2 separate regions of the Homo sapiens genome follow, and region 2 is linked to region 1. Evidence: promoter capture Hi-C in 16 types of primary human blood cells and fetal thymus (Javierre and others, 2016). All regions are on one chromosome and are shown on one strand. Each heading gives the region's core, a stretch centred on a gene start or on the middle of the fragment in contact. The rest is flanking DNA. Distances are from core to core; before and after follow the strand shown. Region 1 holds the start of TMC1 (transmembrane channel like 1). Region 2 holds the start of LOC101927191 (a long non-coding RNA gene).

The links. Contacts are between HindIII fragments. The CHiCAGO score rates a contact against its expected background, and 5 or more counts as called.
Region 2: a fragment that was not itself captured here is called in contact with the fragment with the promoter of TMC1 in region 1 in 1 of 17 cell types (endothelial precursors); the score reaches 8.6 in endothelial precursors.

The regions. Positions count from the first base shown.
Region 1 is chr9:72,519,294-72,524,991 of GRCh38, forward strand. It overlaps TMC1 (transmembrane channel like 1), which reads left to right and starts at 2,315. Exons shown (of 24, transcript NM_138691.3): 1 at 2,315-2,620. LOC101927234 (a long non-coding RNA gene) reads right to left here. Exons shown (of 3, transcript XR_001746721.3): 3 at 4,125-4,524. RefSeq lists an enhancer at 5,458-5,698. The HindIII fragment of the contact is 6,235 bases long and covers 964-5,698 here.
Region 2 is chr9:72,573,192-72,578,889 of GRCh38, forward strand. It overlaps TMC1 (transmembrane channel like 1), which reads left to right. Exons shown (of 24, transcript NM_138691.3): 2 at 4,711-4,832. LOC101927191 (a long non-coding RNA gene) reads right to left here and starts at 4,338. Exons shown (of 5, transcript XR_242619.5): 1 at 4,227-4,338; 2 at 3,915-4,050. The HindIII fragment of the contact is 2,698 bases long and covers 1,709-4,406 here.

The DNA of each region.
Region 1 (5,698 bases), core at 1,065-3,564:
GACGGTAAAAAGAAAAAACAGGTTGGGCGCGGTGGCTCACGCCTGTAATCCCAGCACTTTGGGAGGCTGAGGTGGGTGGCTCACTTGAGGTCAGGAGTTCAAGACCAGTCTGGCTAACATGGTGAAACCCCATCTCTAATAAAAATACAAAAATTAGCTGGGCGGTAGTGGTGTGTACTTGTAATCCCAGCTACTCGTGAGACTGAGGCAGGAGAATCGCTTGAACCCAGGAGGCGGAGGTTGCGGTGAGCTGAGATCACACCACTGCACTCCAATCTGAGTGACAGAGTGAGACCCTGTCCCCCAAAAAATAAAAAATGAAATTAAAATTAAAAAATAAAAAAACAGCTGGGAGTCTGAGGCAGGCAGATCACGTGAGGTCAGGAGTTGAAGACCAGCCTGGTCAACATGGTGAAACCCCGTCTCTACAAAAATACAAAAATTAGCTGGGCATGATGGCAGGTGCCTGTAATCCCAGCTACTCAGGAGGCTGGGGCAGGAGAATCACTTGAACCTGGGAGGCAAAGACTGCAGTGACCCACGACAGTGCTACTGCATTCTGGCCTGGGTGACAGAGCGAGACTCTGCCTCAAAAAATAAAAATAAAATAAAAAATAAAAATAAAAAACAAATGAAAACCAACCAAACAACAACAACAAAAGCCAAAAATAAAAATGCCTGTGAGAGATTTCTTAGAGTCACTCATTATTAGTTCATGCTCCCAGTAGAGATATTTCTTCAATCAAGTCCCAGTTTCCTCCTCTTTTATTGCATTCTTTCGTGAAGAAAGCTTAAAGAAATGAATTCTTGTCCTTGGAAATGAGGGAGGACTATACTATGCTTTCTCTAGAAGGCACTACTGTGTGTTTGAGCATGTTTTTCAAATAATTAGTAGGTGTGAGTGGTTCTGCCAATAGACATACTACATTTATTTTCAGTGATCACTTGAAAAACACACCTATAAGCTTATAATTGCTGACATTAACAAACAACAGGTATGAAGATGCTGTTCACAAAAAGTGCATGTAGTTCCATGTGTTTTATTTAGTCTGTTTGAAATGAAGTTTAGCATATCTATAGCACACAGCATGAAACATGTCAGTCATTTTGAATTTAACATTGTGCATAATGTATTCATAAGAATTATATTTATTTATTAGCATTTATCTTCAAATCAAAGGTTAAAAGTTTCAAGATGCACAAAAATGGTTAACTTTCTGTGAGAAGTCTGAGAAATCACTGAAGACATGAAAATGACAGGCTGGAGGAAGAAGTAAAGAACCTAGAAGGCCAAAATGGAATTCTAAGATAACATGAATATAGAACATAGAAAAGAGAAAGGATTGATTGAAAAAAGGAAAGGGGAAAAAAAAGGAATTATTAAATGGAAACATTAGATTCAAGTAAACCCAAAACAATCATCAAAGTAGATGTTAACAGCATTTTGAGTACATGTTGTGAGTATGAGAAGTGCAATTCTAAATGTTAGGCCCTTATGTTTTAACATATCAGCAAATACAATATTTTGTTTCTAATTTAACAAATTTTTAAGACTTATGTTAGTTGTGACATATTTCCAATAAATAATTATGTTTCCCAAGGACACTGGGTACAATAAAGTGGGTCTGACAATTAACTTACCTTTGAAACCTGAGCCCTTCATTAGTTACAGGAATAGACTGGAACATGATTTTTCCTCTCCTGCTTGGAGAACCCACAAGTTGTGTTTTCTTTATGAATATTGGAAATTCTTTCTTTTAGCCAAATGAAGGGTGTGCATTTCTTCGGCCAGGAGTTACCAGGCTGATAATCCTGATGCAGCGGTTCTCAAAGTCTCCTCAGAAGGCCCGCAGTAGCACCAGCAGCACCAAAGGACTTGTTGGAAACACCAGTTTTCTAGGCCGGGCACAGTGGCTCATGCCTGTAATCCCAGCACTTTCGGAGGCCGAACTCCTGAGGTCAGGAGTTTTGAGACCAGCCTGGCCAACATGGCAAAACCCCGCCTCTACTAAAAATACAAAAATTAGCCGGGTGTAGTGGCGGGCACCTGAAATCACAGTTACTTGGGAGGCTGAGGCAGGAGAATCACTTGAACCTGGGAGGCAGAAGTTGCAGTGAGACAAGATCACACCATTGCACTCCAGCCTGGGCGACAAGAGCAAAACCTCTGATTAGAAAAAAAAAAACAAACAGGCGCCGTGGCTCACGCCTATAACCCCAGCACTTCAGGAGGTTGAGGTGGGCGGATCACCTGAGGTCAGGAGTTCAAGATCAGCCTGGCCAATAGAGTGAAACCCCGCCTCTACAAAAACATGATGGCGCGCGACTGTTTCCCATCTACTCAGAGGCTGAGGCGGGAGAATCGCTTGAACCCGGAAGGCGGAGGTTGCAGTGAGCTGAAATCACGCCATTGCGCTCCAGCCTGGGTGACAGAGCAAGACTCCGTCACAAAAAAAAAAAGAAAAAAGAAACACCAGTTTTCTGATTTCACCGAAGACCTACTGCCTCAGAAACTATGAGGGCAGAACCCAGCAATCTGTGCTTTCTTTCACAAGCCCTCCAGGAGTTGCTGAAATTTAGGAATCATTGCCCCAAAAAGTGGCCCTCATAATGATGCCAGGTAAGGAAAGACAACATTATTACCTATGTGTGGTGTGTTAACATTCTTTATGAAACATGTGTGAAGACCTAAATCGAAGACTTTCTCCATGAGATATTCCCTAATCACATTAGTGAAATAAAACTATATTTCCTCTACTTTTCTACTGCTACAGAAATCTCCCCCAGTTAGGATAGTCCCAGTTTCCTATTTATCTTTGTTTTTCTTGCAGTGCACAGCATGTCACCCAGTAATTGATAAGTTTTTTTTTTTTTGAGACGGAGTCTTGCTCTGTCTCCCAGGCTGGAGTGCAGTGGCGCGATCTCGGCTCCCCAAGTAGCTGGGACTACAGGCGCCCGCCATCACGCCCGGCTAATTTTTTGTATTTTTAGTAGAGACGGGGTTTCGCCGTGTTAGCCAGGATGGTCTCGATTTCCTGACCTCGTGATCCGCCCGCCTCAGCCTCCCAAAGTGCTGGGATTACAGGCGTGAGCCACCGCACCTGGCCTAATTGATATGTTTAAATGTTAAAATTAAATGCAATGATTTCCTAAAATAAACAAATGTGGGACAATTTATTGCACTCTGTTCAAATTCCCATTTTGAAGTGGAATTCAAACAAACATGACAGTAAAGGGGGACAGTGAGCACAGGGACAAGAGAAAAGGAGAAAGGGAAGAAATACAGAGAACTAGATAGGAGGAAGTGTCAAAGACTGATGGGTGTAAGCCACCTTTACCTCTGGATATTGGTTTTCCTTTGAATTGTGGTATGTGGTCATATTGCTTATTAGTTATAACATACAGCTGTCAGAAGAGTTTTTCAATTAAAATTTCAAATGTAATATTAAAACTGTTTGGATTCCTTCCTACTGGGCACTGGACACTGTCTGTGGAGCTGCTGGAACAGCGCTGAATAGGGTCATATTTTAAAGGAACTCAGCCTAGTGCAGTTTCTCAACCTTAGCACTATTGGCCTTTGGGGCCTGATAATCCTTTTTTGTGAGGGGCTGTCCTGTGCACTGTAGGATGTTTAGCAGCATCCTTGGCTTCTACTCAGTAGATGACAGTATCAACCCCCTTCCCCAGAAGTGACAATTAAAAATGTCTCCAGACTTTTCCAAATGTCCCCTGAGGAGCAAAATTGTCTCCAGTTGAAAACCACTGGGTTAGTGGGAGAAACAGATAAGACAGAAGTTCTCCATACACCATGATAATGCCATGATGCCATAGGGCTGGCAGGAGTGAAGGGAAGAGCATCTCACAAAGACTCGGGGGGATGCAGGGAGGAGGAAAAATTAGGAAATGAAGTGGGCTGAGTTGCAGTTAGCCTGTGGGGAAAATGAAGGAGAAGGGATAAGGAAGAAGAGGAGGAAGGAGGGAGGAAGAGTGAGGAGTAATAGGGAATTATAGTTGACCTTGAACAACTTGGGGTTTAGGGATGCCGACCCTTGCGTAGTCAAAAATCTGAGCTTAACTTTTGACTACCCTCACACTTTCCTAACAGCCTACTGTTGACCAGATGCTTTACCAATAACATAAACAGTTTATTAACACATATTTTGTATGTTTTATGTATTATACACTGTATTCTTACAATAAGGTAAGCTAGAGAAAAGAAAATGCTATTAAGAAAATTGTAAGGAAGAAAAAATATATTTACTGTTCATTAAGGGGAAGTAGATCATCATAAAGCTCTTCATCCTTGTCATCTTCAAGTTGAATAGGCTGAAGGAGGAGGGGGAGAGAGAAGAGACTGGCCTTGCTGTCTTAGGGGTGGCAGGGATGGTAGAGGTGCAGGAGGTGGAAGGGGAGGCAGGAAAGGCAGGCACACTCGGGGTAGCTTTCGTTGAAAGAAATCTTCATATGAGTGGACCCATGCAGTTCAAACCTGACTTGTTCAGAGTCAACTGTACTTGTTCCAGGCTAAGAACAGAGAATAAAAAAAAAATGTATAGAGGCCTGAAACAGCATATTATATTAAAAGAACTCAAAGCCGGTAAATGCTTTGCTACTGAAGCATAAAGTGAGAAAGGGGCATCATGGGCTCTGAAATTGCAGCCACAAGTCTACAGAACACATTTTTCATAGCCCAAGGTCAGTCTTCTATTACCCTTTGCAGTGAGGTTATCATCATCCATTTTCACTCGTCAGTGCTGGGGAGCCCATTAAATACTTGCCACTATACTTGGTCCCAACAGTTAATAGACTGTAGCATCTTTTATTTCTTCACCTAGCCTGAAATCAGTTGAGCTTTTGCAGAATCTTAGATATGTCGTTTTTTTCTTCAGGTTTAGAATGGGGCACTTAAAAAGATGCATAGTACTTGAAAATAGAGAAAGAAAATAGCATGTAGAAATTTGTGCCTTTATTCTGCCCAAACGTCTCAAAAAGGAAAAAAATAATTTTAAGGGTAAATATTGTCATCAATTTATCTGAGCTCTTTTGACTTCCTTTGAGCCTGAAAAACAGGATCAGTGTCTTTTTAGTATTTACCATAGTGCCTGATATGTAGAAGGTGTTTGACCAATGTTTATTAGATAAATGTTCACTTTTATTACTAGTAATATTAACCACATTTTAATAGAGACTAATAATACATGATAAACTTCTCAAGGATGCGATCTCATTTGATCACTATAACAACCCAATGAGGTAAGCGAGGAATAGTTGTTAACTCTAATACATGTTATATCTTATCCTTGACCCAGTATTACCCCAGTCATGCCTTCCTTTCCCTGCAATGAAAGAAAACCGATAAACACAAAATGTTGTATCCCATATAAGCATTCATTCTTATGGTAGATAAGTAAATGGAAAAGATAGGTATGCATTCTCAATTTTTTTAAGTCCTAGAATTATAAAACAGTAAAGAAGTGAGAAGAGAGAGAAATCTTAAGGGACCAACCTCTTGATTTTACAGGTGAGAAAACTGAGGCCACATAGCCATTTAGTGCAGAGCCAGGATTATAAACCAGATGTTTGGAATCCTATGTGGTGGTGGACACGAGGATATACTAATTAGCGTCGTTACCGGAAAATTCCACATATCTCTAAGGAGCAGATCACCACACACCTGCACAGCCCAAGCCTGGATTGT
Region 2 (5,698 bases), core at 1,808-4,307, 55 kb after region 1:
TCAAACTCTTCTTTCTCTCAGATACTTCACTTTATGGAAATCTTTTTCACGTTTATCCCTCAAACCCAGAATTTTGAGTGTCATACCTGTTCTAACATAAATTTGAGGAAAATGAAGGCTAATTCAGAATAAAGAACTATATAAGCAGATGGACAGTGTGTTCTCCTCTAAATAGGGGTGCTAGGATAAGAGGCGGTAGGATAAATGCACAGCCTCAAAATCCACCACCCACTAAAGACCTCACAGTACATGATGACATTAGCATGCTGTGCCAGCATTTCTACCTACCACGATGACCTGGAATGAAGGACAAAAGGGGCAATTGTTAAGTCCTGTGCGTAAACTTTGGAAGAGAACATACCTTGCTTTAAACCATTAAGGGGGCAGGCAATAGATTCCTGTACAGGGTGGCTTAGCCAAAAGTGGCTGGTCTTGTTCTCATTTATATGGTTTATAATGATTCTAAATCATTCTCGGAGAAAAACAGACTCATTTCATCTCCCTTTAATTAGGATTTCTGTTACTGCAATATTTTAGTGGCATTTATGTCAAATGTTTTCTTTTGAGAACTTCTCCCTTTTACTGTCTTTTTTCTTTTATTTTAAACTTTTATTTTAGGTTAGGGGGTACATGTGAAAATTGGTTACATAGGTAAACTCATGTCAAGAGGGTTTGTTGTACGGATGATTCATCACCCAGGGATTAAGCTCAGTACTCAATAGTTATCTTTTCTGCTCCTCTCCCTCCTCCTACTTTCCACCCTCAAGTAGACCCCAGAGTCTGTTGTTTTCTTCTTTGTGTTCATAAGTTCTCATAATTTAGCTCCCACTTATATGTGAGAACACGCAGTATATGATTTTCTGTTCCTGCGTTAGTTTGCTGATGATAATAGCCTCCAGCTCCATCCATGTTCCTGCAAAAGCCATGATCTTGTTCCTTTTAATTTACTTTTTGCTATTCTGATTAGAGAGTGGCCATGCTCCATGCTCCATATGGATATTCTTTGGAAACAAAGCATTTTTGAAATGGTAGGATTGGGGCTAGTAAAAGAGAACAGAAAGAATTGTGAACAGGGTCTCCTCCAGTACAGATGGTTAAAGAACACAAATAGGGAAGTGTGATGAGTGACCTCCATTTAATTGGGCGCCCAAGCTCTTGGCTGCTCCAGCATGGGTTGCCATCCTGACTGATCCCTTGGCTCAGAAACAGATATGGTGCTATCAGGAAAGCAAGGCCAATATCTGAATATTGCAGCAGAGACTGCTCCCATTTCAGAAAGCAACCCAGATTAAAGTTGATGATTCAGTTTCAATAAATGCTTCCTTTTTTATAAAAGGCATTTAACATCACTCTTTCCCCTGGTAATATGGAATTAGCTTTTGGGATCAACTGGAAAATGTCAGAGGGCGATTGTAAAAGGCCACCTGCTAACCACAGGAAGCTGGGCTGATACAGAATGCCAGGTTAACTTAAGGTCGATAATGGTTACTTCCTTGTCACTTTTTACATGCATCCTTGCTCTGCAGTGGGGGTCATAAGAAGTAAGATGCATGCAAGGTGAATTTCTAGAAGTCAGCTTCTCTGAGAAGTATTCTCTGACCATACATTCCTACTAGTCCCCACATACGCTGCTGATCTCCCCATCTTCACCCCCATTGTTGAAATTGCTCCCTCATTGTAACTGTTCACTCATCTGTCTCCACCATAAAGCTTAGGCTCCTAGAAAGTCAGGACCAGAGCTAGTACAGTGCCCCATGTTCTTATGGAATGATTTTAGTGCCTTGAGTTTGGTGTGGTGACCAGAGCTGGTGGCCAACTGTCGTGAGGCCCCAGTCCTTCTTTTTGTCATGCTTTCCCTCCCAGCCCCTCCTTGACCACTCTTTCACCTCCATCTTTCTACTTATATAGAGACAAATAATAAGATGCTTGTACAAAGGGTGTACTTGTATTATCCCATTTGTGTTGATATTCCACAACAGCAAATTAGGTTTTTTTGTTTGTTTGTTTTTTGATGGAGTCTTGCTCTGTTGCCCAGGCTGGAGTGCAATGCGTGATCTCGGCTCACTGCAACCTCTGCCTCCCGGGTTCAAGTGATTCTCCTGCCTCAGCCTCCCGAGTAGCTAGGACTACAGGCACCCACCACCAAGCCCGGCTAATTTTTGTATTTTTAGTACTGACGGGGTTTCACCATATTGGCCAGGCTGGTCTTGAACTCCTGACCTCAGGTGATCTGCCCGCCTCGGCCTCCCAAAGTGCTGGGATTACACGTGTGAGCCACTGTGCCTGGCCTGATAAGGTTTAAAGATTAAATACCATGTCGTTAAATTTGCAAATCTCTCGAATAGGAAAATCAGGAACAATGACAACATTCGGAGCTTCCCAGAAGGTAACAACTATGGGGAGTTTTGTGGGCATCTGAGAGAAGCACACACACAGATGGTTTGCCTTTCATTGGTCCATTCTTGCCCAGAAGGCGACACTAACTGAAACAAAGAAGCCTCATATGAGAAGGACATGGGGTCACAGCAGCTTTTGGGGTGGCCCTGGGTCCTTGATCTGGTCTTTCTCTGGCTCATTTTGTATTGCTCACTTTGTTACTTCACAATCCAGGGCTTGTGACATTTTTCTTCTCTGGAGTGGAAATGACAGAGCTGCAGAACACAAGTTTCTGATTGGTTCCTATGAGTCAGGAAAGAGGGCCAGTTGAAACTGGGCTCACACACACACACACACACAAACTAGGCTCACATGTGTTTTCCCATCAGCTAAACAAGTTTTCAGAAGTACAGAAATAACTCGTTGGGGAAGGGGACCCAGGACAATGACAATGTTTTTGATGGTAATGTCTGCAGAAGTAAGGCAGGTTTCCTCTGTGCCTGAAAAGATGGCACCATTTGAGGAGATGGCATACTCGTGGTGGAATCTTCATTAAGATGTCAAACTAAGCTGTAGGAAATCAACTCTAGAAAACAGCTCTAATGTGAGAAAACATATATCCAGTTTTATAGAGCAAGAGCTGTGATCATGGTGACATTTAACAACTGTATTAGTTGGCCAAGAGGGTAAAAATATACTTGACCTCTTAGAGCACCATAAATACTCTCAGCTTGTGGGCCAACTGTGTCATGGTCTTTTTTCTAGCCCCTCCTCTTTCTCCCTTCCTTCTTGTCTCTCTCCTCCTCTCTCTTCCCTCCCCTTTCTCCTTTCTGACCCTCTTTTCTCTTCTCTATCTTCTCGAACCTTCCCTTCCTCCTCTCCTTTAGGTGCTCAGCACCTCTTTGATTCAATAAACATTTACGGAGCTCCTTCTTGTGCCAACGACTGTACACAGAGCTGGGATGTCAAGATGAATCAGTTACATTTCCTGCCCAATGCCAAGGGATGGCTTGATGGGTTTTGACCAGCCCCTCCCTGGACTCCCAATTTCTTTTTTTTTTTTTTCTTTTTTTTTTTTAGACGGAGTCTTGCTCTGTTGCCAGGCTGGAGTGCAGTGGCACGATCTCGGCTCACTGCAGTCTCTGTCTCCCTCCCAACTTCAAGCGATTCTCCTGCTCAGCCTCTCGAGTATCTGGGATTGCAGGCATGCGCCACCACACCCAGCTAATTTTTTTGTATTTTTAGTAGAGACAGGGTTTCACCATGTTGGCCAGGGTGGTCTGGATCTCCTGACCTCGTGATCCACCCGCCTTGGCTTCCCAAAGTGCTGGGAATACAGTCATGAGCCACCGCGCCCGGTGCCCTGGACTCCCAATTTCTACCTCCTGGAACGTGCTTTACTCACCAGCCTTGGTGTTATTCTGCAATATGGCCAACTGGGATTTTTTTCAATCTTACAGAAATTATTCTCGGAAATGTTTGCTATTTTTTTTTAATGAAGCTACAGCATACAATTTAAGGATAAATAATGTACTTACTCTGCAGCTATTGTTTCAAGTCAAATCCGCTGATTACTCCTCCAAAATTCTTTTCTTAATAAAATCTCTGACCCTTTCCTCTTCCTGTTAGAACTTCTGGAGCTACCATTGTTCCTCCTCTTGGGCTGCTCATAACCTAGGGGAGTCACAGTGAAATTACTTGCTTTAAAATTCTTTAATCACTCTGCGAGTTGTTAGGAAAAGCTGACACATCTGATTTGGAAACTCCCACTCCAGTGGACTGTTGTGCCTCAGCACACAGGGACGGGTGGAGCAAAGGAACAAGAAGCCAAAAACTCTCAGGGCACTTACTATGATTGTGTAAAAGAGAGACTCATCAATTAACACAGGTACTGGCAAGTGCACTTCATAATGCCTCCATTTCTAGACAGATCAAAAACAGTGTGCCCTGTCAATAAATGCTGAGTTTCTGTAGCAGCCTGATTGAGATCAGCTAACCTTTAGGCCAAAAGCGGGATTCTTCCTTGCTGAAGCTTTTGGCAAAGCATATTGAGCTTCATGCCAGGGATTAGATTAACTCTTGCAAAACTGGTTCACCAGGAACAATGACTCAGTGTTTTTTTTTTAGTATCCGGCATATTGTGTGGAGCAGCTATAAATATATTTACAAGCTGGAGTTTCAAGGGAGGGGAGTAATAGCTTGCTGAAAAACATGCCAACTGAGTTATGGGTCTTCACGCAGCCAGCATGCTGTGTTTTGGGCTCTGCCTCTTGTAATTTTTAGAAATTAATTAGTTTATTCTTTATTTATATTTATTTATTTATTTATTTTCAGATGGGATCTTACTCTGTTGCCCAGGCTGGAGTGCAGTGGTGCGATCTCGGCTCTCTGCAACCTCCGCCTCCCAGGTTCAAGTGATTCTCCTGCCTCGGCCTCCTGAGTAGCTGGGATTTCAGGTATGCCTCACCATGCCTGGCTGATTTTTGTATTTTTAGTAGAGGCAGGGTTTCACCATGTTGGTCAGGCTGGACTTGAACTCCTGACCTCAAGTGATCCACCTAAGGGTACTGGGATTACAGGCATGAACCACTGCACCCGGCCTGTTGGTTGTAATTTTATTTTCCTCCTCAAGGACTTTGAGCACATTATCTTCTCTTTAATAACTTGTTTCCACCCTCCTTTGTGCACGCGCGCACGCGTGTGTGTGTGTGTGTGTGTGTGTGTGTGTGTGTGTGTGTATTTTCTGATCTCCCTACGGGGGCAGAGAGTCTCAAGCAGGTATGTCCATGTTATTAACATACTGTCTGCTTATTAACTAACTGCACCAATGATGAAAGCCAACTGACAAACAAGTGATGCTCTTATCCCTCCTTCGCAAGCAATGAATCTGAAAGCCAAGAGAAGTTTTCCTTTCAACAGGAAGTGTTTTGGAGTCCGAACAACTCTGCATTTAGACAGTGCAGCTTTTAGTTACAGATCTTGGCAATGGGGCAGGCAGAGGGAGCGGCAACTACAGACTTTGCCGTAGGACTGTTTTCTATGGAGTGTGTGTGCTCTGACGAGCTAGTGACAGGAGGGAGGTTACAAAAGCATTTACTGAAATAAGGATTTCTAATAGAGGAGCTTTTTAAAAGTATTAAATATGCTAATGTGCCTAGGGCATAGTCAACAAAGAGTTATAATACATGTCATTTTTCATATTTATCAAGGAAACCATGTCACCCGCAGCCTTTCTCAATTTCTGGCATTCTGAGAAACACACTGTAGTGGTGCCTGAGGGTCTGGGGAAAGAAGAATAGAATGAATGGGGCATCTCAGAATC